Linked DNA regions of Homo sapiens: all the other regions are linked to region 7. The links are contacts of gene promoters, found by promoter capture Hi-C in human tissues and cell types (Jung and others, 2019). All regions are on one chromosome and are shown on one strand. The core of a region is centred on a gene start or on the middle of the fragment in contact, and the rest is flanking DNA. Distances in the headings are between cores, read along the strand shown. Region 1 overlaps POFUT2 (protein O-fucosyltransferase 2). Region 2 holds the start of POFUT2 (protein O-fucosyltransferase 2). Region 3 holds the start of TRPM2 (transient receptor potential cation channel subfamily M member 2). Region 4 overlaps ADARB1 (adenosine deaminase RNA specific B1). Region 5 overlaps ADARB1 (adenosine deaminase RNA specific B1). Region 6 overlaps TRPM2 (transient receptor potential cation channel subfamily M member 2). Region 7 holds the start of UBE2G2 (ubiquitin conjugating enzyme E2 G2).

The links. Contacts are between HindIII fragments. The study calls those that stand out against the background at their distance.
Region 1: a fragment that was not itself captured here is called in contact with the fragment with the promoter of UBE2G2 in region 7 in 1 of the 25 tissues and cell types used here (lymphoblastoid cells).
Region 2: a contact is called between the fragment with the promoter of POFUT2 here and the fragment with the promoter of UBE2G2 in region 7, in 3 of the 25 tissues and cell types used here (dorsolateral prefrontal cortex, liver and lymphoblastoid cells).
Region 3: the fragment with the promoter of TRPM2 here is called in contact with the fragment with the promoter of UBE2G2 in region 7 in 5 of the 25 tissues and cell types used here (H1 embryonic stem cells, IMR-90 fibroblasts, dorsolateral prefrontal cortex and 2 more).
Region 4: a fragment that was not itself captured here is called in contact with the fragment with the promoter of UBE2G2 in region 7 in 2 of the 25 tissues and cell types used here (IMR-90 fibroblasts and lymphoblastoid cells).
Region 5: a fragment that was not itself captured here is called in contact with the fragment with the promoter of UBE2G2 in region 7 in 3 of the 25 tissues and cell types used here (IMR-90 fibroblasts, lymphoblastoid cells and spleen).
Region 6: a fragment that was not itself captured here is called in contact with the fragment with the promoter of UBE2G2 in region 7 in 4 of the 25 tissues and cell types used here (heart right ventricle, lymphoblastoid cells, mesendoderm cells and 1 more).

What each region holds. Positions count from the first base shown.
Region 1 is chr21:45,268,168-45,272,083 of GRCh38, forward strand. It overlaps POFUT2 (protein O-fucosyltransferase 2), which reads right to left. Exons shown (of 9, transcript NM_133635.6): 7 at 1,672-1,852. Among named protein-coding and RNA genes, the nearest start is that of POFUT2, 18 kb to the right of the region's middle. The HindIII fragment of the contact is 5,405 bases long and covers 1-3,916 here.
Region 2 is chr21:45,286,189-45,290,016 of GRCh38, forward strand. It overlaps POFUT2 (protein O-fucosyltransferase 2), which reads right to left and starts at 1,707. Exons shown (of 9, transcript NM_133635.6): 1 at 1,553-1,707. The coding sequence starts at 1,683. It overlaps LINC00205 (long intergenic non-protein coding RNA 205), which reads left to right and starts at 1,864. Exons shown (of 3, transcript NR_026943.1): 1 at 1,864-2,056; 2 at 3,163-3,250. RefSeq lists a silencer at 1,634-2,163 and an enhancer at 2,318-3,048. The HindIII fragment of the contact is 23,447 bases long and covers 1-3,828 here.
Region 3 is chr21:44,352,007-44,355,913 of GRCh38, forward strand. It overlaps TRPM2 (transient receptor potential cation channel subfamily M member 2), which reads left to right and starts at 1,615. Exons shown (of 32, transcript NM_003307.4): 1 at 1,615-1,859; 2 at 2,642-2,730. The coding sequence starts at 1,695. RefSeq lists enhancers at 1,831-1,880, 2,041-2,090. The HindIII fragment of the contact is 21,861 bases long and covers 1-3,907 here.
Region 4 is chr21:45,099,322-45,103,384 of GRCh38, forward strand. The region is part of intron 1 of ADARB1 (adenosine deaminase RNA specific B1); the gene reads left to right. Among named protein-coding and RNA genes, the nearest start is that of ADARB1, 27 kb to the left of the region's middle. The HindIII fragment of the contact is 4,715 bases long and covers 1-4,053 here.
Region 5 is chr21:45,117,179-45,121,170 of GRCh38, forward strand. All of the region lies in intron 1 of ADARB1 (adenosine deaminase RNA specific B1), which reads left to right. Among named protein-coding and RNA genes, the nearest start is that of ADARB1, 45 kb to the left of the region's middle. The HindIII fragment of the contact is 3,865 bases long and covers 1-3,408 here.
Region 6 is chr21:44,375,403-44,379,388 of GRCh38, forward strand. It overlaps TRPM2 (transient receptor potential cation channel subfamily M member 2), which reads left to right. Exons shown (of 32, transcript NM_003307.4): 6 at 431-611; 7 at 2,310-2,371; 8 at 3,595-3,795. Among named protein-coding and RNA genes, the nearest start is that of TRPM2, 24 kb to the left of the region's middle. RefSeq lists enhancers at 1,928-2,427, 2,428-2,929 and a silencer at 3,423-3,628. The HindIII fragment of the contact is 6,690 bases long and covers 1-3,986 here.
Region 7 is chr21:44,799,728-44,803,716 of GRCh38, forward strand. It overlaps UBE2G2 (ubiquitin conjugating enzyme E2 G2), which reads right to left and starts at 2,093. Exons shown (of 6, transcript NM_003343.6): 1 at 1,979-2,093. The coding sequence starts at 2,021. It overlaps LINC01424 (long intergenic non-protein coding RNA 1424), which reads left to right and starts at 2,514. Exons shown (of 2, transcript NR_109928.1): 1 at 2,514-2,909. RefSeq lists an enhancer at 1,319-2,274 and silencers at 1,822-1,881, 1,942-2,161, 2,662-2,711. The HindIII fragment of the contact is 9,913 bases long and covers 1-3,989 here.

The DNA of each region.
Region 1 (3,916 bases), core at 1,259-3,758, 470 kb after region 7:
GGAGACGGGGTTTCGCTGTGTTGGCCGGGCCGGTCTCCAGCCCCTAACCGCGAGTGATCCGCCAGCCTCGGCCTCCCGAGGTGCTGGGATTGCAGACGGAGTCTCGTTCACTCAGTGCTCGATGGTGCCCAGGCTGGAGTGCAGTGGCGTGATCTCGGCTCGCTACAACCTACACCTCCCAGCCGCCTGCCTTGGCCTCCCAAAGTGCCAAGATTGCAGCCTCTGCCCGGCCGCCACCCCATCTGGGAAGTGAGGAGTGTCTCTGCCTGGCCGCCCATCGTCTGGGATGTGAGGAGCCCCTCTGCCTGGCTGCCCAGTCTGGAAAGTGAGGAGCATCTCCGCCCGGCCGCCATCCCATCTAGGAAGTGAGGAGCACCTCTTTCCGGCCGCCATCACATCTAGGAAGTGAGGAGCGTCTCTGCCCAGCCGCCCATCGTCTGAGATGTGGGGAGCGCCTCTGCCCCGCCGCCCCATCTGGGATGTGAGGAGCGCCTCTGCCTGGCCACGACCCCGTCTGGGAGGTGAGGAGCGTCTCTGCCCGGCCGCCCCGTCTGAGAAGTGAGGAGCCTCTCCGCCCGGCAGCCACCCCATCTGGGAAGTGAGGAGCGTCTCCGCCCGGCAGCCACCCCGTCCGGGAGGGAGGTGGGGGGGTCAGCCCTCCGCCCGGCCAGCCGCCCCGTCCGGGAGGGAGGTGGGGGGGTCAGCACCCCGGGCGGCCAGCCGCCCCGTCCGGGAGGGAGGTGGGGGGGTCAGCCCCCCGCCTGGCCAGCCGCCCCGTCCGGGAGGTGAGGGGCGCCTCTGCCCGGCCGCCCCTACTGGGAAGCAAAGAGCCCCTCTGCCCGGCCAGCCGCCCCGTCTGGGAGGGAGGTGGGGGGGTCAGCCCCCCGCCTGGCCAGCCGCCCCGTCCGGGAGGTGAGGGGCGCCTCTGCCCGGCCGCCCCTACTGGGAAGTGAAGAGCCCCTCTGCCCGGCCAGCCGCCCCGTCTGGGAGGGAGGTGGGGGGGTCAGCCCCCCGCCCGGCCAGCCGCCCCGTCCGGGAGGTGAGGGGCGCCTCTGCCCGGCCGCCCCTACTGGGAAGTGAAGAGCCCCTCTGCCCGGCCACCACCCCGTCTGGGAGGGGTACCCAACAGCTCATTGAGAACAGGCCAGGATGACAATGGCGGCTTTGTGGAATAGAAAGGCGGGAAAGGTGGGGAAAAGATTGAGAAATCGGATGGTTGCCGTGTCTGTGTAGAAAGAAGTAGACATGGGAGACTTTTCATTTTGTTCTGCACTAAGAAAAATTCTTCTGCCTTGGGATCCTGTTGATCTGTGACCTTACCCCCAACCCTGTGCTCTCTGAAACATGTGCTGTGTCCACTCAGGGTTAAATGGATTAAGGGCGGTACAAGATGTGCTTTGTTAAACAGACGCTTGAAGGCAGCATGCTCGTTAAGAGTCATCACCAATCCCTAATCTCAAGTAATCAGGGACACAAACACTGCGGAAGGCCGCAGGGTCCTCTGCCTAGGAAAACCAGAGACCTTTGTTCACTTGTTTATCTGCTGACCTTCCCTCCACTATTGTTCCATGACCCTGCCAAAATCCCCGTCTGTGAGAAACACCCAAGAATTATCAATAAAAAAAATAAATTAAAAGAAAGGAAAGAAACGAAAGCATTGAAGCTCCATACCCTTTCTGACGGCATCTGTGGCCACAAACACCTTGTCCAGCCGGTGGGTCTTCATGAGGCTGCGGATCTTCCTCACGGCCCCTTCCAGACTGGGTACATCCTGTCTGTGACCCCAGATGAAATCTTTTCTTCTCAGGTGGACTCCCAGGTAGGGGCCCCCTAGCGCGGAGCCCAGCTTGACCTAGCAAAGAACCACAAGGAAATGCAGAAGCTGACAGGCGGGCTCGGGGCTCATCCTGGGCACCGGGTGGGACTCGAGACGCAGAGGGATGACCCTTTCCATGTGGCCTCCTCCACGGGGTGGCTCCAGGGCTGTCTAAGGGATTCAGGTGGAATCTCGGGGGCGACCAGATGTCTTTCTAAGAAGACAGTGAAGCAGTATTAATTACCAGAAATCATTTTATCTGAGGTAAAGAAAAATATTTAAAAAGAGAACAGCATGTGGAGGCTCACGCTGTGAACTTTTCCTCCGAGAACCACCGCAGGGACGTGCCACAAAGAGTTCACGGATCCTGTGGACAAAGCAGCTCACAGCTGCAAACTCCCCGGGAGCCAGAATGCTCTGCTGCCCTCTTGACAGTGCCACCTCCTGGCTGGAGGCCACCAACGCAAATGGCTACAGCAAATTCTAACCAACAACCCTGCTCCAAGGAAGGAGAAAGCAACAGCTAATCCCACCACCTGCAACCTCCTGGCTGTCCACAGGTCCCGAGTCTGTCCACGTGACAACTTCACTGCAGCATAACCAGCATTCGAGAAAGCCAGTGCACTCAACAAAACTACAACCAAGGACCCCCCCAGAGTCCACTTCACTCCCCCGCCACCTCCAGCAGAGCAGGTGCTGGAACCCATGGCTGGGAGACCCGAAGACGGATCACAGCACAGGACTCTCCGCAGACATTCCCCAGCAGCATCCCAGGGCCTGGTAGCCCCACTGGGTGGCTAGACCCAGAAGAGCAATAACAATCACTGCAGCCCAGCTCTCAGGGAGCCCCATCCCTAGGGGAAGGCGAAGAGCGCCACAGAGCACCCCGTGGGATAAAAGAATCTGAACAGTAGCCCGTGAGTTCCAGATCTTTCCACTGAAGTAGTCTGCCCAAATGAGAAGCAGGCAGAAAAGCAATTGTGATAATATGACAAAACAAGGTTCTATAGTACCCCCAAAAGATCATAGTAGCTCCCCAGCAATGGATCCAAACCAGGAAGAAATCTCTCAATTGCCAGATAAAGAATTCCGAAGGTTCATTATTAAGCTACTCAAGGACATACCAGACAAAGGTGAAAACCAACTTAAAGAAATTAAAAAAAAAACAACAACAACAATATGGATGAAAAATGCTCCAGATAACTAGGTATCTTAAAGGAAAAACAATTGCAACTTCTGGAAATGAAAGACACACTTAAAGAAACGAAATACACTGGAAAGTTTCAATAATAGACTAGAACAGGAGAAGAAAGAGCTTCAGAGCTCGAAGACAAGGTTTTCAAATTAGCCCAATCCAACAAACAAGAAAAAAGAATAGTAAAAAAAATGAACAAAGCCTCCAAGAAATTTGGAATTATGTTAAACAACCAAACCTAAGGATAATTGGTGTTCCTGAGGAAGAAGAGTAATCTAAAAGTTTGGAAAACTTATTTGAGGGAATAATTGAGGAAAACTTACCTGGTCTTGCTAGAGATCTAGACATCCAAATACAGGAAGCTCAAAGAATACCTGGGCAATTCATCACAAAAAGATCATCTCCTAGGCACACAGTCATCAGGTTATCTAAAGTCAAGATGAAGGAAAGAATCTTAAGAGCTGTGAGCCAAAAGCACCAGGTAACCTATAAAGGAAAACCTATCAGATTCACAGCAGATTTCTCAGCAGAAACCTACAAGCTACAAGGGACTGGGGTCCTATCTTCAGCCTCCACAAACAAAGTAATTATCAGCCAAGAATTTTATATCCAGCAAAACTAAGCTTCATAAATGAAGGAGAGATCATCTTTTTCAGACAAACAAATGCTGAGAGAATTCACCACTCCCAAAGCCAGCTCTACAAGAAATGTTAAAGAAGTTCTAAATCTTGAAACAAAACCTCAAAATACGCCAAAATAGAACCTTCTTAAAGCATAAATCTCACAGGGCATATAAAACAACGCAATGAAAAAGAAAGAAAACAGAGTATTCAGGCAGCAACTAGTATGATGAATAGAATACAGTACCTCACACCTCAATACCAAAGTTGAATGTAAATGGCTTA
Region 2 (3,828 bases), core at 457-2,956, 490 kb after region 7:
CAAGAATCAGTACCCACATGGTTCTCAAACTGTTTGGTTTAAAGACCCCTTTACACTGGAAACAATGACTGACGGCTGGTTATGTGCACTATGTCTATTGATACGTCCTATGTTAGACGTTAAAGCTACAAGTATTTAATTCAGCTAAAAATAAGAAGCCATTACATGTTAACAAAAACCACATATTTAAATAAAAAATAAGTGTATTTTAAAAAATGAATTAGAAGAACTGTGATGATGTTCTTAATTTTTGCAAATCTCTTTTGGGTTTGGTGACAGCTGGATTCCCATACCCGTTTCTGCATTCAATCTGTTGTGACATCACAGATCAAGTGGTTTCTAGGAAAACTCCACAGTGCATTCATGAGAAGTGAAAAAGGCGTATAATACTCTGGTACTACTATTAAAACGGCTACAAAAGCTCAGAGATCCAGGACACACTTTAAGATCACTGCCCTAGAGGAAGGACACAAAGCGCCCCAAGGCACAGACAAGTCCCCAAGGCACAGACAAGTCCCCAAGGGCTACAGAAACCCTGTCCCTGGCGCTCTCCTTTCCCTGCTCTGCGCTGGTTTTCCATACTCCCATCGTCGCGAGTGAAGCTGCGTGCAGCGCCCAGGCCTGCGAACGCCACGAGGGGCCGTGCACACCTCTGCGTCCAGGCCCCTCCCGGGGTCCGCTTGGAGATCCCACAGCCACAGGGCGGCCGCGAAGCTCGTCTTGGCCCTGAGAATTCACTGCGGAGCGCCCGCCCGGCACTGACTCCCGGCTCCGCACACCCAGGCCTGGACCCGTGTCACTTGCAGGGGCCTCCGGAGCCAGCCCACGCTCAGCCTGAGCAACCCGGCCCCCTTCCTGGGCTCCCGAGGCTGCGCCCCGGGCCTCGCAGACGACCCCGCCTGCAGACCCGGGCCGCAGTGACGCAGCCTCGACTACAGCCAACCCGCTGGCCCGACCCTGCCCCCAGCCCCCGCCCCATCCCATCCCCCAGACTCCAGCCCGGCCCCGGCCCCTGCCCCTGCCCCTGCCCCTGTCCCGTCCCCGTCCCATCCTTCTTGGCCCCGGCTCCCGCCCCGCCCCCATCCCATCCCTCGGGCCCCCGTTCCTGCCCCCATCCCATCCCACCCCTCCTGGCCCTAGCCCCTGCCCCGCCCCCATCCCATCCCATCACCCTGGCCCCTGCCCCGCCCCCATCCCATCCCATCGCCCTGATCCCTGCCCCGCCCCCATCCCATCCCTCCTGGCCCCTGCCCCCTGCCCCTATACCATCACCCTGGCCCCTTACTCCGCCACATTCCTTGCCCCAGAACCCTGACCCCATCCCATTCCCCTGACCCCTGCCCCCTGACCCCGCTCCATCCCATCCCCCTGGCCCCTGCCCCATAACTCCGCTCCATTCCATCTCCCTGGCCCCGGACCACCCTCCATCCCGTGGGCCTGCCCCTGACCCCATCCCATCTCCCTGGCCCCTGACCCCGCCCCGCCCCCATCCCATCCTCTGACCCTGCCCGGTCCTGGAACCCCAGCGTTGGCACCGTGGACGCGCGTTTACCGTCTGCGGGAAGCCGCCCCCGACAGAATATCGGCCGCCGATTGTCCGGGCCAGAACTCCTGGCCGGAGGCAGAAGCCGGAGGCCAGGACACTGCCCCCAGCAGCAGGAAGACGAAGCTGAGTGTCGCCATGGCCCCGGGCGGCCACGCACTTCCGGCGGCCGCGCCCCGCCCCGGAACCACGCCCCGCCCCCGTGAAATGCGTTCCCAGTAGCCACGGCAACGCCCAGCTCCGCCCTCCCCGCGCATGCGTTATGCGCCATCACCGGCAAGCAGGGGCGGGAGGGGGAACTGCGCGTGCGCAGAGTCTCCGCCCTCCTGACCGCAGCGGCTAGAGGTTCCATTGCAGACCCGGAGGCCGTGGCTGTGGTTCGCGGCGGTGCTGTCGCGGGCGCCCTGGCGCAGCCCACGCAGGGGCTCCTGAGGGTCCGCGAGGCCGGGAGGTCCGGGGGTCGGGAGGTCCCGGGGTCGGGAAGTCGGTGGACCCTGCAGGCCAGTGGGGAGGGTACGCGAGACTGGGGGCCGGGAGGGCTGACGGCTGGTGGCGCGGGGCGGGTCCGTGGGGAGGAGGCCCGGGGCTGGTAGGGGCGGGAGGGCTGGACGGCGGGGGCGGGGCGGAGGAGGGGGTCCGTAGACGGGGTCGGCGCCGGGTGCTCTCGCCCCTCTGGAGCTGGGGTCGGGGCGGGAGCCGCGCATGAGAGCCTGGGTTTCTAGTCGGGGGGCGCCGTCGAGCTCCACACCTGCGGCCTCCTGGGTGCCCCCAACCCTGGAGCCCCGGCGAGGGGGCACCCGGGCTGAGGCCTGGCCCTCCAAGGAGCCCTGGAGGGACTGTGCTGCTAGGGCGCGGGGCTCGATGGGGTGATCTGGAGACCTGGGGGGATCCGGGGCTGCCGCCCCTGCGCTGCCAACCTCCCACCCCGCCCCTTCTGCGAGGCGTTATTAAAGGTCTGGTTTCGGGAGCCAGGTGCGTGCCCGCCGCCGCCGCTCCCCGCAGCCTCCAGGCAGCTCCCGCTGTTCCCCGAGGGCACCAGCACTGGCCGACCGACCTGGCTTGGGGCGCGGCGCTGGCAAACCCGGCCTTCTGAGGGGACGCCACGCTGACTCTAGTGCAGGCAGCCCCCAAAACGGTATAATTGGACGAATTTCTTGAAGGATGCCAGTTACCAAAAAAGAAAATACTAATGCTTATTATCTGTTAAATTTGAGATCAATTTGTTATCAAATTTTCTCACACAGAAAATTCCAGGCCCAGAGGGCCAAGCTGGTGAATCCTACTTAGAGAAGAAATAATAGGAATCCAGCCACTCAGACGATGGACGAGGAGGGGCACTTCCCTGCTCGATGTATGGGCCAGCATTGCCTTGATAGCAAAGTCAGACATCACCAGACAGTAGAACCACAGACCAATGTCTTTCATGAACCAAGACACAGCATTTAAAAAAATTAGCAAATGGAATTTATATCTGCCTATTGTTTACAAAAAAAGCCAAACTTTGTAAAATACTTGAAGAGATTTATTCTGAGCCAAATATGACCCATGACACAGCCTCAGGACGTCCTGAGAACTTGGCCCAAGGCGGTTGTTTTACTGCTTGGTTTTATTCATTTCAGGGAGACATAAGACATCAGTCAGTACATGTGAGGTGTGCATTGGATTGATCCAGAAAGTCAGGACGACTCCAAGTGGAAAGGCCTCCAGGTAATAGGTGGATTCAAAGATGTTTCTGATTGGCAGTTGGTTGAAAGAAGTTACTATCTGAAGGCTTGGAATCAATAGAAAGGAGTGTCTGGGTTAAGAGAAGGGGCTGTGGAGACCGAGGTCCTTATTATGTGGATGAAATCTCATAGGTGTCCGCCCTCAGAGGCAATACATGGCAAATGTTTCCTATTCAGACCTTCAAAAGGCACTAGACTCTCAGCCAGTCTCCTCAGGATCAGAAAAAGAGCTGGAAAGGGAAGGGGAGTCTACAGAATATGAATTTCCCCACAAGACACCGCTTTGCGGGGCCATTTCAAAATTTGTCAAAGAGATATATTTTGGGGTAAAATACATTGATACTTTGAGGGCCTGTTGTCACGTGATGCTATACCAGCGTCAGATTGGAACTTGGTGTCTTGCTGCTATGGAGTCTGCTGTCAGTCTGGTCAGCTGCACCTGAACTCCAAAGGGAGGTGGGTATAATGAGCCATGTCCAATCCCCGTCCCTTCCTGGCCTGAGCTCATTTTTCAGGTTCTTCAGAATCCCCCTGGTGGAGATGAGGGATCCATTCAGTGGG
Region 3 (3,907 bases), core at 365-2,864, 450 kb before region 7:
CATCCTCATCCCGTGCAGGGTGGACCGCCTGCCTGGGGAGCCACCTGCAGTCTGGGTCCCCTTGCGGTGCCACTGCGATCTCTCTAGAGCCTCCTCTTCCTCCTGCCACTGGGGACATCTCTGCCCCTCTGCTTCCCTCGGAAGCTGGTTGTGAAGCCGGGCCAGTGGCTGCGGGGACAGCTCATGGCCCTGGAAAGACCCCACTGGCATGCGGCACAACATCTGCTCTGAGAACTGCAGGAAAAGGCCGGGCAGGGCACCCCTGCCATCCTGCCAGTGAAGTTTACGGGTCTCGGAATGAGTGTGGCCAAGGGGCAAAGGGGAGGAGGGAGAGGGGGAGGTGGGGTTGCCTGAGAGTGCCCGCCCCAGGACAGCAGCCCGTAGCTCAGCCCCAAGAGCCCGGCACCGAGCTTCGAGCTGCGTGGCCCCGAAGAGGGGCTCAGTCACCTAATGTGATGAGGGGACGGCAGAGCAAAGGCTTGTCTGACAGTGACCGTCGTGTGTAGTGGAGAGGACGTGGCCAGAGATCTGGTTTCAGGGCAGGGATGAGGGGGGATTCCAGTCAGATCTTTTGCATCCCAGCAACCCTCCCCTTGACACCTTTGGGGCAGTGGCAGGGGATGACCATGGATGACCTCATGAGAACACTGTGGGTGTCAGGGACTCAGGGAGGCCCCGCAGGGCTTGAACATGCTTATGTTTCTCATTTGTAAAGGGAGGGCAGTCATCCGGTGGCTTCTTGTGGCCTCGGTGATGAAGGCCACATCAGAGCCAGGGGGAAAGGATATGAGAGAAAAAGATTCATTTGAATTATTGTCTTTTTCCTGGAGTGGAGAGATGTGGTACTCCCCAAAACTTCCTTTCTAGGCTGGGCACAGTGGCTCACGCCTGTAAAACCAGCACTTTGGGAAGCGGAGGCTGGTGGATCGCCTGAGGTCAGGAGTTTGAGACCAACCTGACCAACATGGTGAAACCCTGTTGCTACTACATACAAAAAAAATTAGCAGGGTGTGGTGATTGGCGCCCATAATCCCAGCTACTGGGGAGGCTAAGGCAGGAGAATCACTTGAACCAGGGAGACCGAGGTTGCAGTGAGCCGAGACTGCGTCACTGAACTCCAGCCTGAGCGACAAAGTGGGACTCCGTCTCAAAAAACAAGAAGAAAAAGAAACTTCCTTTGTGGACAGTGAGGGCTATTTAAAAAAATTTTGGAATATGAAAGTAGTCACTGGTGTCTGGAAGCAGGAGCTGTGCAGAATTGTACAGTTGCGAAACCATGTCGCTGGCAGCTGGTGCTGGCGGTGGAGACTTCCCTGTGCGGTGCTCAGTGCAGCTGCACCCGTGGGGGAGGGAGCTCTTTCTCTGGCCCTGCAGTCACCTGAGGTTGTTACCATTATGAACGGCCGCTGGGACCCCCGCATGTGCATGTACTCCCCCAGAGTGTCCGGGGGCCCCAGCCAAGGGACACAGCTCAGGCAGCTGGGAACATGTGCAGGCTGATGAAGAGAACCGGATGAGGGCTTCACATGAGGAAGCATGTGGCCAGGTCCTCTCAGAACATCAGCCTCATCTTCCTGTCTCTGATCTATTTCAGCAACCACCCCATGTGTCTCTAGAACCCCAGTGTAGCGAGCTGGAGAGAGGACTGTCCTGAGGGCAGCAGGCCTGGTTGCAGCTGGCGTGGGGGTCTCAGAATGGAGCCCTCAGCCCTGAGGAAAGCTGGCTCGGAGCAGGAGGAGGGCTTTGAGGGGCTGCCCAGAAGGGTCACTGACCTGGGGATGGTCTCCAATCTCCGGCGCAGCAACAGCAGCCTCTTCAAGAGCTGGAGGCTACAGTGCCCCTTCGGCAACAATGACAAGGTAGGCTTTCTGCTGGTCAGCCTGCAGTTGGCACGTGGCCACGGAGGTCACCGTTGGGCAGGTCATAGCTTGAGGCTGTGACGACGGGGGTGGGAAAGGGTCTGCTGACCTTGGGGGCTCCTGCCCAACCATACCTTTGGGAGAACAGAACTGGGGAGGGTGATGCGTGTCTCGTCTTCTGTGGGTTGCATGACCATTTCCCATGGTTGGTCTGATTGGGAAATCACCGGGTTAACTCAAAAATGTTGCGCTAGAGTCCTGGAAATCTGTTACCCGTGCTTACCTTGTTGCATAATGATTTCACATCCTTTATCCGATTGGGAGGGCCTGGGCCTGGGCTAGCTTTCCCCAAAGCCCTGGATACAAAGACACAAGTATGTTGAAAGCACATGGCATCTTGCAGTCCCCTTGCCAGGCAGGCAGGAGGGTGGCTGCCCTTTTTCCGATGGTGCAAGATCCAGGTCCCCAGATCCCCAGCCTCCACGTTTTCCACCACACCATGTTGTTCCCAAGGAAGGTGGTGGTGCTGTAGAAACTGTAAAGTGCGCGCACATTCAAAATGGTCCCAAGAGGAAATGATTTCTTAGATTCATTCCTCCCTCCTGAATCCCCACCGGAGAGTCTTGGCAAGGTGCTTCTAATCTTTGGCTCAGGGTCGCGCAGGCTTCCTTCCTTCAAGCAAATAGTGTGAAAGCTCCTCAAGGAGCTCAGATGTGTCTCCAGGGGGCTGGGTGTGCTCTTTCGAATGTTGGAAGATCTCAGTGTGCTGTCTTTACCTTCAGCAAGAAAGCCTCAGTTCGTGGATTCCTGAAAACATCAAGAAGAAAGAATGCGTGTATTTTGTGGAAAGTTCCAAACTGTCTGATGCTGGGTAAGTGACGTGATTTGTGTGTAAGACCTCTGACTTCTTCCTTCCGATCCCACATGGAGTAGCTGATCAGGCCAAGACCCCTCAGGGCCTCAGTGAAGGGTCACTGGAGATACCTCTGTCTCCATACGAGGCTTAGAGTCCACAGAGCATTTCCACCTAACCCTTGCAAGCCTCCTGTCGGGGACAGTTGACCCTCATCCTGCCTCGCAGGTGCAGGGACCAAAGTGCAGAGTTTAGGTGACTTGTTCAGGGTCATAAGGGCACTGTCGCGCGGCGAGGCCCAGTGGTGTGAACACAGATGCATCCTCTAATCCTCTCATTTCCACACCTGCCCCCACCCCAAGAGAGAGAGTCCCAGGGTCCAGGAACTGGAAGGGCCTTAGGGAGAGTCCATGGCCAGAAGACTGCCCCCCTGCACAGCTTGCCAAAGCCAGAGGCCCGACTTGCCCCCAGGCCCCACAGAGCCCCCTTTGCCCCTCCTCCCCACAGAGCCCACGACTCAGGTGTGGCCAAGACCCCCGCCCAGGCAACATGGCCACTGTCTCTGAGTGGCTGGATATGGCCCTCCGGAGCCGATGGTGCTCCCCGCAGTTGGCGCCCCTTTAGGCACGGACAGAGTGTTGATTCATGTTTGTGTGCCCTCCCCGAGCAACACCCATTTCATGCTCTTCCACAAATGGGCCACACGCTTCCTCCTTTTACTCCATTGCCTGGTGAGCTCCTACTTATCCCTCAAGGCCTATTGCAGATGCTGCCTCTGCCGTGCAGCCTTCCGTGACTATACAACCTCTACCAGGAAGTGAGCTTCCCTCCTACCGCACCGTGTGTTTCTCTTTGATCCCAGCTGTCGTGCTGTAACTGTGTGGCTTTGTGTTCATCTTTCTTGCTAGCTGCTGAGCTTCTGGGGGGCTGGGACGAAAGCAGAGTGTTGTGTTAATTCCCAGAGAGTGGCCTTCAGCTCATATTTACTGAATATGGGGAGGGAGAAGCATCCTGTGCTTGGGAAATAGAAGAAGACTGTGTTGCCCCAGGGTACCTCTAGTGTACTCGGTACATCATCAGAGTTTCACGGTCACCAATACAACAGCTGTCCCTCCGCATCCCTGGGGAATTGTTCCCGGACACCCACGGACACCAAAATCCCATATCTCGTATCAGTCCCAAAATCTCATATCAA
Region 4 (4,063 bases), core at 446-2,945, 300 kb after region 7:
CTGTTAAATTAGGGTCTTCGGATTGCTCTGCAAGCCTTTTTAAAAAAATAATTTACAGGCTGGGCGCGGTGGGTGGCTCACGCCTGTAATCCCAGCGCTTTGGGAGGCCGAGGCGGGTGGATCACTTGAGGTCAGGAGTTTGAGACCAGCCTGGCCAACATGGTGAAACCCTATCTCTACTAAAAGTACAAAAAAAATTAGCTGGGTGTGGTGGCGCACACCTGTGATCCCAGCGAGCAGGAGGCTGATACATGAGAATCACTTGAACCTTGGGAGGGGACCACTCCAGCCTGGGTGACAGAGCGAGACTCTGTCTCAAAAAAATAAAAAATAAAAATTTACAATTTATGTTAAAATATGTCATTTTAAGTTATGTAAATCCAAGCATAATTACTGAACACAAGGCTCAATCCAAAACATGCACAGTAAGCCCGTGTGAAGTGTTCACATGCTGTTCTGAGGCTGGCTGGATCTGGAGTTTCTGGGAGTGCTCTCTTGGGCTGGCACGTCTTGGGCTGTGGGGGCCCTGAAGCCCTCCTAGATGCTGGACATTGGTGTGTGTGCAACTTGGTGGTGGTGTTGGGGTTACTTTCCAGAAGCTACTCAAGGCTTAGTCTCAGTTTCTATCTAAAGATATTTATATGGGAAGTATTCCAAATGTGGATTTATAAAGATAACACATGGATAGAAATAGTGTAAAACTTGTGTGAACTGAACCAGCCAAGCTTCTAGTCTTCCCTTTCCAAAACTTTCCTTTTTCTCCCCCCGTGTTAAAGATTTAAAAATATATGTTTAAAAAGGTCACTTTTAACTTGTAAAAATTATTCAACATATACAGAAATTTAAAAAGCAGCATTGCAGGTTATGTGAGATTATGTATGTCTGCTCTTTGGAACTAGGTTGAAATGATAGCTACAAGGTTCTTTGGAAGAATGGGGATGTGTGGGTGAGAGTGGAGTAGACAGGCTGGGCTTACTAACTAGGCTTGCACTGGCCCCCGTCAGTCACTGTTCCCAAGTCAAATACTGCATTGCACTGAACACCAGAGCAGCAGTGCATTTCCTAGAGAACTCTGCAAGGCTACAGGTGGCAGACTTAGGGAGCGCTTGCCATCCCTGCCCTTCCCAGCTCTACCCAGAACAAGGAGGCCTCGCACACTACCTGGTCATATTTTGACTTCATGCATTTAATGAACCAAACTAAAGGTAAATATTTTCTTTTGATTCCCAAGGCAGACTTGTGGGTACCCAAGTTCCTCAGCCCATCTTTAACTCAGTAGGATGTGGCATCTCCATTGAGGCTCTTCATGGAATCCCTGGAGGTGAAACCTCGGTGTCCGGTTGCTCCAAACCAGTGCTGGTGGGATTCAGTTTTCTGGACCCATTTCTGGGTGAAGTCAAGGAATGGAGGCGGGCGGCTGTCAAGCGTCTCTGTTGCTCAATGGGGCAGGCCAGTCCCAGCGGCGACTTAGAGGTGGCTGGCTGGGCGTCCCTACAGGAGAATGGGCCACAGGGCCAGCGGGGCCAGCAGGATGAGCAGGCCTGGTTTGGGGTATGGGCCGCAGGCGTGGAGCTCGATGCTGGGCAGGGGCCTGCTCACTGACGAGTTGCCACCCGGGATTGGGGTAGGGGTGGGCGCGGTGGTCTCGGGCTCTGAGCGGCTCTGCACCGGCAGGAGCAGGACTGGCAGCAGCAGCAGCAGCGCCAGTGCGGATCGGGCCGCCATGGCCAAGCGCTCCGGCTCGTCCCGTAGCAGTGCCGCGGCGGCGGCCGCTGCCGGGAGTGTCTGTTCCGCGGTTACGCGGGGTCCTCTCCGGTCCTGTCCAGTGAGGTCCTGACAGCTGTACCCTGGCCCAACCCCTGCCCACGGCTGTTAACGATCAGCCTCGGGGAGCAGGTGTGCCGCCACGCGCGCCGTAGCGCTCCGGAGCTGGCTCTGCGCTCACGTGCTCGCTGTGCCCTGCGCGCGGGCGGGCCGTGTCCCCGCAGCCCCGCGCCTGGCGCTGCCAAGCTGCCCAGCGGGCTTTAGCAGGTGCTGAAATGCCCGCTGCCAGTCGCCGAGTGCTGGGTGCAGAGGATCTCTCCAGACACCTAGGCTCCCTTCTTTCGCGGCACGTGGGAAAAACTCCTGAAGTGCGTGCACAGAGTTTTTGTTTTAGAGGCTTTGACGTTATGATTAAGTATACCTGTGATGTAACGAAAACCTTTTTTAATGCTTCTCAAAAGATTTGCTAGCGTTTAACATTTACCTCCTGTACTGGAGTTTAAAGGAAGCGTTGCTTCTTAAGTAATCAGTGATCCTTTTGCTTTTGGAAATTGTAATGAACTTCACCATCGTAGAGCTTTAATATTTCTTTCCTGAAGCAGAAAGCATGTGAAATTTTCTGGATAGTGTATACTTAATACACAAGCTTTTGGAGTTTTTGAATGCTGGGTATGTTAGCACACCAGTCTTGCTGACTATTACGTGGGAGATGAGTGCTGCTTAAAATTGTGTAAGGGGTCAGTAGTTACAGTGGTGGACATACTTTTGCCAGACATGGTTTATTTTAAAGTGAACATATTTTGTGCTTATTTATTTATTTGGGACAGGGTCTCACTCTGTTACTCAGGCTGGAGTGCAGTGGTAATCATGGTTCACTGCAGCCTCAACTTCCAGGCTCAAGTGATCCTCCCACCTCAGCCTCCTGAGTAGCTGGGACTGTGGGGCTACAGGCGCACTACCACACCCAGCTAACTTTTTTTATTTTTTGTAGAGACGGAGTCTTGCTGTGTTGCCCAGGCTAGACTTGAACTCCTGGCGTCAAGCGATCCTCCCTCTTCGGCCTCCCAAGTTGCTGGGATTACAGATGTGAGCCACCATGCCTGGCCAATGTGCTTATTTTAATTCTAAATCAGAATTTCTATAATTATCTTCCTTACCTTGGTGTCTGTCTGTTATCAGCACAAGGGTTTAAAATAATTTTTGATTTCTTGGAAGTAATTACGCAGGCAGTTCAATGGGAGAAGGCACTTTCCTCAGCACATTTGGGGTGCTGTTGTCAGAAAGAAGGGGATGGATTCAAGTCAGCAAAACCAGCTGTAACCACAACTATATTTTTTAAACATGTAGCTGCATGTTCCATAAAACAGCATATAAAAAATAGAGTGAGCATTCTTTATTGGAGAAATAGCTGATTCTAGGACTGGGCAGGAAATAACACAAGTGCCAGGAATGCCAAGGAAATGGCAAGGAAATGCCGAGAAACAAACATAACCACACCCACATCAATGGGTGGTGTCAAAGGGACCCAGGAGCCAACTGAAAGAGCTCCCAGTGGCCAAAGCTGGAACAGTTTCTACAACAAAACAAAGTAGTATTGGATTATAGCCCAGAGATAAATAAATATCCATGAGTCCAGACTGACATAAATAAATGACTGATAAATGAGGAGAAAAGACAAAGCTCCTTTTCCAGCACAATTCCAGATCATCTCTGCATCTGCTGTATCTGCTGTGTCTTCCAGGAGGTGGAGCACAACCCTTACCCCAAGGCAAGGGCTGTGCAGAGCAACTTCCTTCCAGAGAGGACAGCATGGAAGTGGGGCGGGGGGCTCAACCCAGCAGGGGCCAGGTCAGCCTCACAGTGGTCAGTCACGGTGACAGGGTGTGCCTGATACAGTGGAGTGACAGTGGGCCTTCACCTCTGGGGGCTTCATCCCCAAACTCAGTCCCTTCCTGTACCATGAGAAAAACATCAGACAGATCCCAGCTGAGGGACAGCTTCCTCAACAGTCAAAAACCAAGAAGAGTCTGAGAAACTCACAGCCAAGAGGGGCCTAGGGAGCCATGACATCTCAATGTCACGTGGGATCCTGGACGACTGAATCTGACGAAAGTGTGGATTTCAGTTAATAACAATGTGTTAATTAATACTGGTCCGTTAAACCAGCAGTCCTCAACCTTTTTGGCACCAGGGACTGGTGACAATTTTTCCATGGGCCGAGGTGGGGGCTGGGAGAATGGTTTGGGGATGATTCCAGCGCGTTACATTTATTGTGCATTTTCTTTCCATGATTACATTG
Region 5 (3,992 bases), core at 226-2,725, 320 kb after region 7:
TTCTATCAGATGCTCTTCCCAGCCTCCTTCTCCAGGGAGACCTAGCCGCTGCTGTTTTGAGTTTCCTGGGAGGACATCCCCCAAGGACTCTCTGGCTTGTCCTTGTGAAGTTGGTTTGCTTTTTGTGCCAGCTTTTTAGGCTTACAAAATGTTGTGTGTGTGTACATAGGAAAAATATGGAAGGGTACGTACCCACTAGTTTGTGTCAGCACTGGATTCTGGCATATATAATAGATGAGGAGTTTCTGTTATGTATATGGGATTTCTGAGATACACAGGGGTTTTCTGTGCACATCTCTCTATAACGCAGCTGTCCCGTCACATCCTGCATGTCAGTACAGGTAGTGCCGTTCTCTTCGTAGGACTGTGACACTTTATCTTTGTTCTTTCACAGTTAAAAAAAAAAAAGCTTCTTTAAAATTCTGACTTTATATAACTAACGCAATGCTCATGCTACTTCACTTGTTACAAGAACATATTATTCTGTCCTATAGATGTACTGCAGTTATTTAATGGATCAGCTATTGATAAGGGGGCCCTTTTAATGTAACTATTTTAAAAAATGGAAGTAATACCAGCACATGGTAAAAAACACATTGCAGCTCATGAATGGGTATAAATTAAGTTGGAGATTTCCTCTTTCTCCCTCCCCACCCCATGCCCCGTTTCCAGAGGTAAACAATGTACAGTTTGTGTTTTCTTCTCTTAAGTTCTTCTTGTAGTCACCATTATAGCTTTAACTTTTCTGTTTGTGAGTTCATGTGGAAGTCAACAGTGCCTTCACACTCTGAGTTTTGATGAGATTTATATTGACAAGGCTTAAAACATTTGTAGTGTTTCCCATCTATCATTAGGCTCCCTGTGCTTTTCCTGCAAGTGTAGTCTAAACATTTTAATATAAGAAAAGTAACATTTATAGTATTATGATAGTATATTTTGCCATAGAACCAAGTGGTATGAAATGTAATTCTGCCTCACCAAACCTTTGCCAATAAAAGGAGAATATTCAGATGGAACTCCCAGTTTCTCTTTAGGTGTCCGCTGTTTCTAGCTGCCTCAGTTGCCATGGTTTCTCCTATCCCATGGTGTTGGTTTCTTGGATTCTATTTTTGTTTTGCTGGAGCACCTCCTTAATCCACTTCCTTATAGAATGGATGGCTGACAGACTTCTTAATTCACTTCCTTATAGAATGGATGGCTGACAGACTTCTTAATTCACTTCCTTATAGAATGGATGGCTGACAGACTTCTTGGGTTTTTGCACGTAATGTTCAAACATGCAATTACTTTGTTCTCATACTTATTGATAATTTGGTAGGGTCTAGAATTCTAGGATCGTATAATTTTCCTTTTGAAATCAGAAAATATTCTCTATTATTTTCCAGAGTCTAGTGTTGGTAATGAGAAGTTGGATATCCGTTTGATCCTTGTTCTACTGCAGGTAAACATCTTCTACTCTCTCCTTCTCTCCCTCCCTGGGCTTCATGTCCTGACGGTTTGATTTTTCGTTACCCTAAACCCGGATCTGCTTCTCTTCCAGCCCGCGTGCCCATATTGGGATCACCCCTTAGAAAACCTCAGGCTTTCTTTGGAGAGCGATTCTCAGGTTTCAGCCCAGGAATAAAAGCGTTCCCTATGGCTCCTGCTTCTTGGGAAGACCCCTCACCTCTGTTGTCTTGCTCTGCAGTTTCCTCTGCTCTCTCGCATCAACCTGCTTTCGTCTGCCTTATGCCCTAAAAGCCCTGGCAGGCTTTCTTGTGTTCTGCTAAATCCCTCTGTAAATTTTTAGCACCGTGCACTATTATGGTTCATTCACCACCAAAAAGTACCTTTTCTGACATTTTAACAGAGCTCTGGGAAGAATGGAGAGAAGATATGGTGTACTTTATCACCATTTTTAATTAAAAGCCCTTTTAATTAATTAATTTAGAGGCAGGGTCTCGCTCTGTCACCCAGGGTGAAGTGCAGTAGTGTGATCGTGGCTCACTGCAGCCTCCACCTTCTGGGCTCAAGCAATACTCCTGTTATCAGCCTCTTGAGTAGCTTGGACCACAGTCACGTGCCACATTGACTGATTAATTTTTAAATTTTTTGTAGAGGTGGGGTCTTGCCGTGTTGCCCAGACTGGTCTCGAACTCCTAGGCTCAAGCCATCCTCCCACCTTGGCCTCCCAAAGTGCTGAGCACACCACTGTGCCTAGCCTAAAAGCCTTTTTAGATCACTCTCAGTGGCAAAATTAGTGCCTTGGTCACCTTTACCAGTAGCTGTTCTTGCTCTCCAGTGGAAATATCACTCAACATTATCAAAGAATCGGGATGAAATTAAATGAACCAGTTTAGGTACTTTTGATACAGAAGTTCTTATGAGACGTGTTGTTCTTTACTATGTAAGAGTGTGGCCATAAACTTAAAAATAGCTGGGTAACTTTGTTACACTTGCCTTGATGGTGTGTTGCAAGTTAGTTAAATTTCATATACTCTTAATCAGCACATCACCAACAAATAAAATGTTACTGCTGCATCAGAATTTAGAGGAGGTTCTATACATCTGTTTCGAAATAAAGACGGAGATGACTTAGGGTACTTATAAGTTGTTGAAAAATCATGGCTCCTGAAACTATGAATTGTCATCGTGGTATATACCCAGACAGCCCACATTAAACTGCTGTGAACATGAGAAAATGGACATCGAAATGATAAAAGCAAGAGTGTTGGTAATTGAAATCCATTATAAATAAAGCTGTCATTGGTAACGCACGAAATGCTGTTTCTGAGGATGAGGACTTTGTGGCCCCCACGTGGGCGCATTACCAAGCTTTGCAGCTCTGCACAGGAGCCTCCCTTCTTGATACTGAACTAGACCTCTATAAAGCCTAGTAACACCTCAGGTTTAGGTTATAAATCTTAAATTTTAGTGCCCCGTAATAATTCACTTCGTAGGTTACCATGGACTAGCCCTTAGTTGCACTGAGAAAAGAAAGGCTATGAAATTTTGTTGGTGAAGTGCCAAAGAAAGGATTGGGTTTTGGGTCATCTCACAGCCCATGGTGAGGGCTGTCTTTGGCCTCTACCGCACGGACAAGTTTGCATGTCAGATGTTGGCACACTTGTGGGGTATTGGGTTCTTTTGAATATCTGATTAAATCCATTTACATTTTCGTTAGAAAAATTCATCTGTGCATATGAACGCATCATTTCATATATGATTTCACACTTCTCATTGTCTTCCTGAAGCCCATTCGTGAACTGTCGATTGAATGCCTGCTCTGGAGAGGAGTGTGAAGCTGCACTTCTTCCGTCTCCTCCTGGCACTCGCTCAGGATCCTCACAGGTGTGGAAAACACTCTAAGGAAGCCTGCGAAGGCCAGATGTCTCCCTTTTGCCTTCTTTGGTTCTGTTCATGATGGCCTTATCACGGACACACTAGGACCCTCTGAGGACACCACCCCTGCCACCGCATTGCTCTGGGGGCAACTTCCGAGCTTATTGTCTTCCTCCAGCAAGGGCAGGAATGTGGAGAAGCTGTGTGTGCTGGGCCTTTACTTTCATTATTGGCGACAATGTTTGTTTTCATTTTATCAGCTTTCTTTATCCTCCATTTTTTTATCTTCCACAGGTAGTGTATATTTTGAGAACAGCGTGAGGTTTATTCTACTAATGGAAATTTACAAAAATACCAGTTTGAATGATTGAGAAATCTAAGTTAAAGAACCCTTGAATAGAAATGTCGCTGTTCAGTGCGTTGATCGATTCTCACATCTGAAGCCAGCTGTGTATTCTTGGTATGTGTGTATTCAACTCAGGTGTGACCTACTGTCTTTTATATGTCCCTGGATTTAAATATGCTAATTTTGTTATGATTTTTGTGTCTACATTTGTAAAAGCCGCTGATAGTTCATGTCTGGCACATTCTTGACAGATTTTACTACCGAGATTATACTGGGCTCGTAAAACGAGTGGGGGATGTTCCCTGTTTTTTTGTTCGCTGGAACG
Region 6 (3,986 bases), core at 184-2,683, 420 kb before region 7:
GCCGTAACAAATGGCCTCAAGCCTGAAACAGCAGCATTGTGGTCTCTCACGTGTCTGGAGGACAGAACTCTGAAGTCAGGGTCACACGTCTGTTTCCCCGCCTCCTCCACTCCTGGGGGGTCCGGCTTTCTCCACTTGTGGCTATGTCACTTGCCCCTGCCTCTGTGGTCCCTCGGCCTCCTCTCCTGTGTGTGTCCCCCACCACCTCTCTCCTGTAAGGACACCTGTGATGGTATTTTGGGCCCACTCGGATCATCCAAGTTAATCTCATGTTTCGATCACATGTGCAAAGTCGCTTTCTCCAATAAGGCCACGTCCACAGATTCCAGGGACTGGGACCTGGTCTCTGTGAGGGCCGGTGTTCAGCCTGCTCGCGTTAGAGAGGCAGAGCTTTCCAGAAGCAGTGTCTGACGCTTCCTGGCCATCCCAGGGCAGCTTCCCCGCCGAGTACATACTGGATGAGGATGGCCAAGGGAACCTGACCTGCCTAGACAGCAACCACTCTCACTTCATCCTCGTGGACGACGGGACCCACGGCCAGTACGGGGTGGAGATTCCTCTGAGGACCAGGCTGGAGAAGTTCATATCGGAGCAGACCAAGGAAAGAGGAGGTAGGGGAGCTTGCTTTCGAGGGTGATTGGGCAGAGAGCACAGTGGGCTGGTCAGAGTGTCAGGTACAGCTGGTCACGACCAGGACGTTCAACAGGCCTGGCGTTTGGCAGAGAGTGCAGTGGGCTGGTCAGAGTGTCAGGTACAGCTGGTCACAGGTCATTCGTGGCACTCGGCAGAGAGCGCGGTGAGCTGGTCAGACTGTCAGGTACAGCTGGTCACAACCAGGATGTTCATGGTACTCGGAACGTCCTCAGAACACACCTGGGTTTCTTTCCCGTGTCTCTTTATACTTTGTTCCAGGAGGGTCATCTTCTCTTGCCCATTTTAGCCAGTGGGAGGGCGGTCTGGGGGGCTGGCAGCTCACCTGTGTGCTCGCAGGTAATGGGCCAACCTACATTTTTTTTGGGACAGGGTCTGGAGCGCAGTGGTGTGATCTCAGCTCACTGTAGCCTCGAACTTCTGGGCTCAAGGGATCCTCCCATCACCCTCCCAAAGTGCTGGGATTACAAGCTTGAACCACTGTGCCTGGCCCTACAATTATTTTAAACCTTGATCATGGTCTGCTCTCAGGTTCAGAAATCAGAATGTACGATAGTCAAAACTTAGGATTTGATACCTTTTTCCTCATAGGTGGGATGGGATGGGTTTGAGGACGTCGGGAGGTCAAGTGCGGGGTTTTGCATATCACTTGAGGAGGGTTCAAAGAGGAGATGGTGAACGGGAGGTGTCTGACCTGTGGCTGGGTGGGCTGGGGTCCCTTGCAGGGTTCCTTGTGCATCGAACTCCCCTGGAGGGTTCCTCACCAGCTTGTGGGCCCCAGCCCCAGGGTCCAACTCAGCAGCTCCAGGTGGGCTGAGAACTTGCATTAGGAGCACGTTCCCTGGTGAGGGCGATGCTGCAGTTCAGGGACCAGGGACCACACTTTGAGAACCCTGCTTGACTAGTAGGAGCACGTTCCCTGGTGAGGACGATGCTGCAGTTCAGGGACCAGGGACCACACTTTGAGAACCTGCTTGACTAGTAGGAGCACGTTCCCTGGTGAGGGCGATGCTGCAGTTCAGGGACCACACTTTGAGAACCTGCTTGACTAGGACATCTGGGGTGGGATGTGTGGGTGAGTGTGTGAAGACGATGGGCCCATGGGGGGCTCACAGACAGAGTTTGCTGCCTGGGGAAAGGGGTTGCCAAGTCCTTCTCAGGCTCCACTGCTGTTGGGCTGGATGAAGTTCAGGGTGGGGCTGGGCGGATGGACACAGGATGGACGTGCCGCATGCTGCTCGCATCCACGCGTGGCAGGTTGTGCCACCTGCTTGGGGCCTCAGCTCTGATTGTCCATAGCCCCTCTCCCTCCCTCCCAAGAAAGCAGGCAGGGGTGGATGGGAAGCAAGCGAGCGGGGAAGTGTGGGTGGCGGGGGGCTCTTGAGTCTGCTCATTGATGTGGAACAGGCAGGTCCCCTGGGAATGTGGAGCTTTGACTTTAAACGGCGACTCAGCACTGGCAAGAGGCCTCCCAGCAGGTGCTTCAGTGTGTGGTTAGGCTGGAGCCAGCAGGGGGCAGGGGAGAGTGCCCTCAGTGCAGGGTCTTGCCCCCCACCTCTGTCCCCTCACTCGGCTCCATGCTTTGTTCAGGTGTGGCCCTCACTCGGCTCCGTGCTTTGTTTAGGTGTGGCCCTCACTCGGCTGTGTGCTTTTTCTAGGTGTGGCCATCAAGATCCCCATCGTGTGCGTGGTGCTGGAGGGCGGCCCGGGCACGTTGCACGTGAGTATGGCCAGGTGGGAGGGGGCATGTGTGGGCCCGTCCTGCTGCAGGCAGATGACTGTCCAAAAGTGCTTGTCTCAGAACTCAAGACTGTTGGCAAGAGGGCGATGAGCTTTCCCACCAGAAGAAGAGAAAGAGCATCTACGCTGTGTCGGGGCTGCTTCTGGGTGGGTGGAGGACGGGTCGGAGGAAGGTGCCTGGAGGAGGAGGCTGGGCTTGGCTATGACTGGGCCATTGACCGGCGTGGAAGGAAAGGGTGGGGCCCCAGGGCCTGGAGTGAGTGGGGCGCCTCTGCTCCCAGGACCTGCTGGGGAGGCTGGGGGGTTTCTACAACTCTGCCCCCAAGATTCCTCCAGGAAGCATTTTTCAAAGTACAGGGCTGTGGCCCCCATCCCAGATCCGTGGTGCCAGCAGCTGTGTGACTGCAGATTTGGCAGGCAGCTTGAATGCGCTGCTCTGCCGGCCTTCCTTCCCGACCCTAACCCTAACTGCTTTGTGGCGTGCAGGGTGCGAGGTGACCTCACCTGCTGTAGGAATGTACGAGGACATATAGCCTGAGGATCTGGAGCAAGAGTATGGGCTTTTGTGAAGGATGGGATCACAGGCAATGTCCCGTTTATGTTTCATGATTGCAGGAGGTCAAAACAGAGCCTTGGGGGCTTGAGGCTGGATGGGAATCCATAGAGCACTGGGTCCTCACTCCCTATGCGTGCCGAGTACCCTTCACGGCTCTTCTGCTGGGGCGGCTGCACCCGCCTCCTTACCCCAGGCCGATGCTCATGCACACGGCAGAGTCCTTCCTGCCAGACAGCTTTGTGTCCAGTCCCTTCCCGAAGTCCAGCACACCCTGGAGCCCAGGTGCCCTCCTCATGGCTCTGCTCTTACTGTGGGCTTTTATGAGGTCGGTAACTCCAGGTCCATGCAGCGTCCCCTTTGCTGCGAGGCCCTCACGTCTGCAGGTCCATGGGCAAAAATGCTGGGAGTCTTTGATTCTGCTGGAGCTGAGGCCTGAGAGGTGCCAGGTGTGCAGCCCCCAGTGTGTTGGGGCAGCTCCCTCTTCCCCCAGAGCAGGGGACGCCACGAAACTAATAAGTGCTTTCAGTGGATCTCGGAGTAGTGTTAGCCAGCTCTGCCCTTAGCTGGCCTTGGAGAATTCTCCATTTCAGAAAGCATCGGAGCGGTGAGGACCCAGTCCCGGGCTCACACCCCCACCTGCCTTGCAGACCATCGACAACGCCACCACCAACGGCACCCCCTGTGTGGTTGTGGAGGGCTCGGGCCGCGTGGCCGACGTCATTGCCCAGGTGGCCAACCTGCCTGTCTCGGACATCACTATCTCCCTGATCCAGCAGAAACTGAGCGTGTTCTTCCAGGAGATGTTTGAGACCTTCACGGAAAGCAGGATTGTCGAGTGGACCAAAAAGGTGAGGCTGACGGGCACGACGGTCACCAGCATGTGGCTGCTTTGCAGAGACACTGTCAGCCTGGTGGGCAGGACCAGGACTCATGGACCGATGCGGAGAACCCACTGGGTCTGAGTGGGTGCCAGAGCGATTTGCAGAGGGCAGGGCCCAGGTGGTAAACCTCCTGGCTGGGTTCCGGAGGTCAGATCCCA
Region 7 (3,989 bases), core at 843-3,342:
AGCACTTCTAATTTCCTTTAAGAACTTTTCCTTTGCATTCACAACTTGGCTAACAAGAGACCCAGCTTTCAGCCTATCTTGACTTTCAACATTCCTTCCTCACTAAACTTAATCATTTCTAGCTTTTGATTTGAAGTGGGTAGAGTGCAACTCTTCACTTCAACACTTGAGCCCACTGTACAGTTACTATTGGCCTAATTTCAATGTTGTTTTGTCTCAGGGAAGAGAGAGGCCGGGAGAGAGATGGGGAAACAGCCAGTCAGTGAAGCACACACAACATTTATTAGGACTACCATCTTTTATGGGCATAGTTTGTGATGCCCCAAAATAATTACAATAGTAACATCAAAGATTACTGATCATAGATCACAGTAATAGATTAAAATGTAAGAGAGAGACACGAAGCGAGCAAAAATGGTGCCAACAGACTTGCTTCCATGCAGGGTTGCTTGTAAAAAACTTGTAAACTTGTAAAAAATGCAAGATCTGCGAAGTGAAGCTCAATAAAGCAAAGCGCGCGGGAAACTGAGGTGTGCCTTTATGTTCTGCTTTAGCAGACACTAGGTGGCGAGCGTTATTTGAACGTTTACAGGAGGCCCTGTGTATCTGCGGCTGCATATCCATGGATTCGACCAACCAGGAATACAAAATATTTGAAAAAAATAACAATAAAAAATGACGATTTAAAAATACAAGTAAAAAAAATCAGTGTAACTATTTGTGCAGCACTTACATTGCATTAGGTACTATAAGTAACCTTGAGATGATTTAAAAGTTATGAGAGGCTATGCATACATTAAATGCAAATACCACGCCACCTTATAGTAGGGACTTGAGCATCCGAGGATTCTGGTATCTGCAGCGGGGCCTGGAACCAATCCCCTCCAGATACCAAGGGAAGAATGACCATACGTGAGTGAGCCTGTATTTGCAACGTTTTGGTCTGCTTAAGCCAAACATCAACTCTTACTGGGCGGTGTCACCAATAGTTTTACGAAATCAAGCTACATGTATATTCACCACTTATTTTTTTTCTCACATTCATTCTTTTAGCTTAACTTTCTTCCAAAATTATCCTCAATCTAATTACAAAAGCAGCAGCTAACTTTATTAAGGGTTACACATCAGGTATTTTGCTAAGCACTTCACCTGCAGTATCAAGTTTAACCTTTTAAGACAAGGAAACTGCAGAGACAGAGAGAGGAACAAGGTCAAAGAGCTAACAAGCAGAGAGGCCGGGTCTGAACTCAGGCCCTGCTCTTAGCCGGCTACTATCTCGTCTCCATCGGCGACTCAGGCTCCTGGCGCTTTCAACACAATGGTATTCCAAGACTTCTCGCAGCAGTTCTTCCAAGCGGGCATTCGGTGTAAAACGATGGAATGCCGAGTGTTCCTAGGTTCTCATTTCTCCCTTCGCTCTCCTCAGACATTAGAAATATCTAATTTACCGGGTAGGAAAGCACTCAAGAGGTTTCCTCAACACTACCTAGGAGGAGTGACAGGTGGCACTGTTCAAAAACCCTTTTCCTTCATTAGAGGGAAAGCCAAAATCTGACCTTTCAAAGCTCCACCAACGAGCCTTTCCCCTTTTAACGCATACACTTTTCCCTCCTAATTCCGCAGCAGCAAGTCAGGCCTTCTTCCTCAAGCTCTCACTGCACGTTCTCAAGGCTGCCAAGAAAAGAAAAAATAGAAGAGAAAAAAACAAGCCCGCAAAGACTCAACTGTGTGTGCTCTCAACTAACACGGCGCCGGCGCTGCCTTTACTGATGCTGGGAAGGCTTCTCTTCACGACTTCACGCGTGAGAGTGGGCAGCGGGCGCAGGGCGCGGCACTCCGCGGGACCCACAGGGGGGCTCACGGTGGAGGCCCCGGGCCCGGCTCCCCCGCCAGGCTCCCTGCCCCAGCCCCGCCGGACGACGCGGGCCCGGGAGCAGGAACGCGGGACGCTGCTGACGGCCCGGGTCCCCAGACTCACGTTTGTACTCGGCCATCAGCCTCTTGAGCGCGGTCCCCGCCATGGCCCCGCAACAGCTGCGCCGAGCGACCTCGCCTCAGCCGCGCGCGTGCCTCCTGCCCCGACACCGGGGACTGCTTCCGGGCCACCGTCGCGGGCCCAGGAACTCTTCCGGGGCGTGGCGCGTGCGCGATCGCCGAGGCGCGCTGTCCGGGTGGTGGGAGCTCAACCCGCGACCGCGGCTACGATTCTCTTGGCTCCTGCCCTCGCCTTAGTCGCTCTGCGGGGTTGGTTCGGTCCCGGCACTTCCAGAGGCCTCAGGGTCCTGGTCTTGTAGAGACTTCCTGAACGGTGGCGCCTGTTCCAGTGTGTGTGCGCTAACTGCCTGTTCTGTGCCAGCCGCGCGTGGCCGAAGGGCGGGAGGACGGGGGTTGTGGAGGGGAGGATGGAGGTTGGGGAGACAGGGCGGGGACGAGATAAGAGGTCGGGGGGTGGGGAGGATGGTCGCGGGGCGGTCTGGGGCTGGAGACAAGGGGCCTGAGGTGCGGGTACGCACTGAACATTCCAACCGTCCCCAGCCGGCCGGGTTTCAGGTTTGAAAAGGTGGGAAGGTTAGCTGTCCTGGCGCTTTTCCTCCACGTGTTGTGCGGCTCCGCTGGAGTTCGGGTCCAGCACCTTCTACTCCGAGGGAGAGAGCCGCGGGGAGAGCCCTGTTCGGGCCCGCGGCTCGAACTGACCGCCGGCTCTGCCGAGCAGCCTCGACCCCAGGGCACCCCCGGGAGAGAGGGCGCGGCTCAGGTCCCTGCCCGAACCCCTGGGGTGCTGAGAGACTCCCCAGCGCCCCGCGTGGGCTCCCGGCCTCTCCACAGTTGAGGATCCTGTAAGGGGCGAGCCCTTTTTCCCATAATGGCTGTAGTGAGTGGGTGTGCTTTCCCGATTGACCCGCTGTGAGGTGAGCGATTTTAACCCACATCCTTACTGACTTCACAGCACAGTAGGTGCTTCGTGGCTGTCCGGTGCAAGGATGTATATACACACACACCTTTGCAAAAAAAGTTTGCATCTCTTGCCTGGCTGTTTGTTGCAATAATCTATCATTTGTCTTTTCCTTTCCAGCATTGCAGATGATCCCTTGAAAAGAAGTCTGATCACATTCACACTCTGCTCCGCCCATTTCACTCAGTAAAGCTGAAGTCCTGCAGTGCTTTGCTCTGCCTCCGGTCACCCCGCCATACTCCCAGACCCTCCCTCCCTCTCACTCCACTCCAGCTGCCCTGGCCTGGTTCAGAGTCCCTGACTCTTCCCTCCCCGGAAACACTTTCTGGCGGCTCTTGTCCCCGACTCTTCCCACCTGCTCTTTCAGTCTTTGCTCAAATGTTGCCTCTTCAGTGTGGCCTAGGCCGTCACCACCCGGCCTTCACCGCATACCTTTTTCTCTGCAACACCTACTCAACACACCGTACTATAGAACTTACTGGCATGCTATAAATGTATTACCCTTATCTGTTGCCTCTAACCAAAAGCGTGTTCCATGAGAGCCATGGGTCCCTGCCTACTTCTGTCTTGTTTCTGGGGCAGCCTCTGTACCTGGACATCGTATACTCTTAACACGGATTTGTCAAATCAAATGAAATTTAACAATACAAACTTCACAAGTATGCATAGTGTAGGAAAATTCCCCAAAATTCAAAATTTCAGTCTACCTCCATCTTTTCAAATGACCACAGTGCTTTATAAAATGACATGGTCCTTTGAGACTGTTTCAGAGAGTAATTTGTGCAAATGCAATGTGCAAAAAGTCACAGTGGAGGTGTTTCCTCCCCCATTCAAGAGCTGCTCTCTCTCTAATCAGACAGCACCCCACACCCCAAGGCAGTCTGTCCAGTGCTCCTAAAGGAGAGCAGCTCCCCTTTTCCAGTTATGGGAGATGTGGGCAATAAAGCATTACTGTCAATGCCGTGATGTTCACTGCAACATATGCTTGATGTTTTCATAATTTTATCCATCTTTTTCAGACATCTTACTGCAGAAC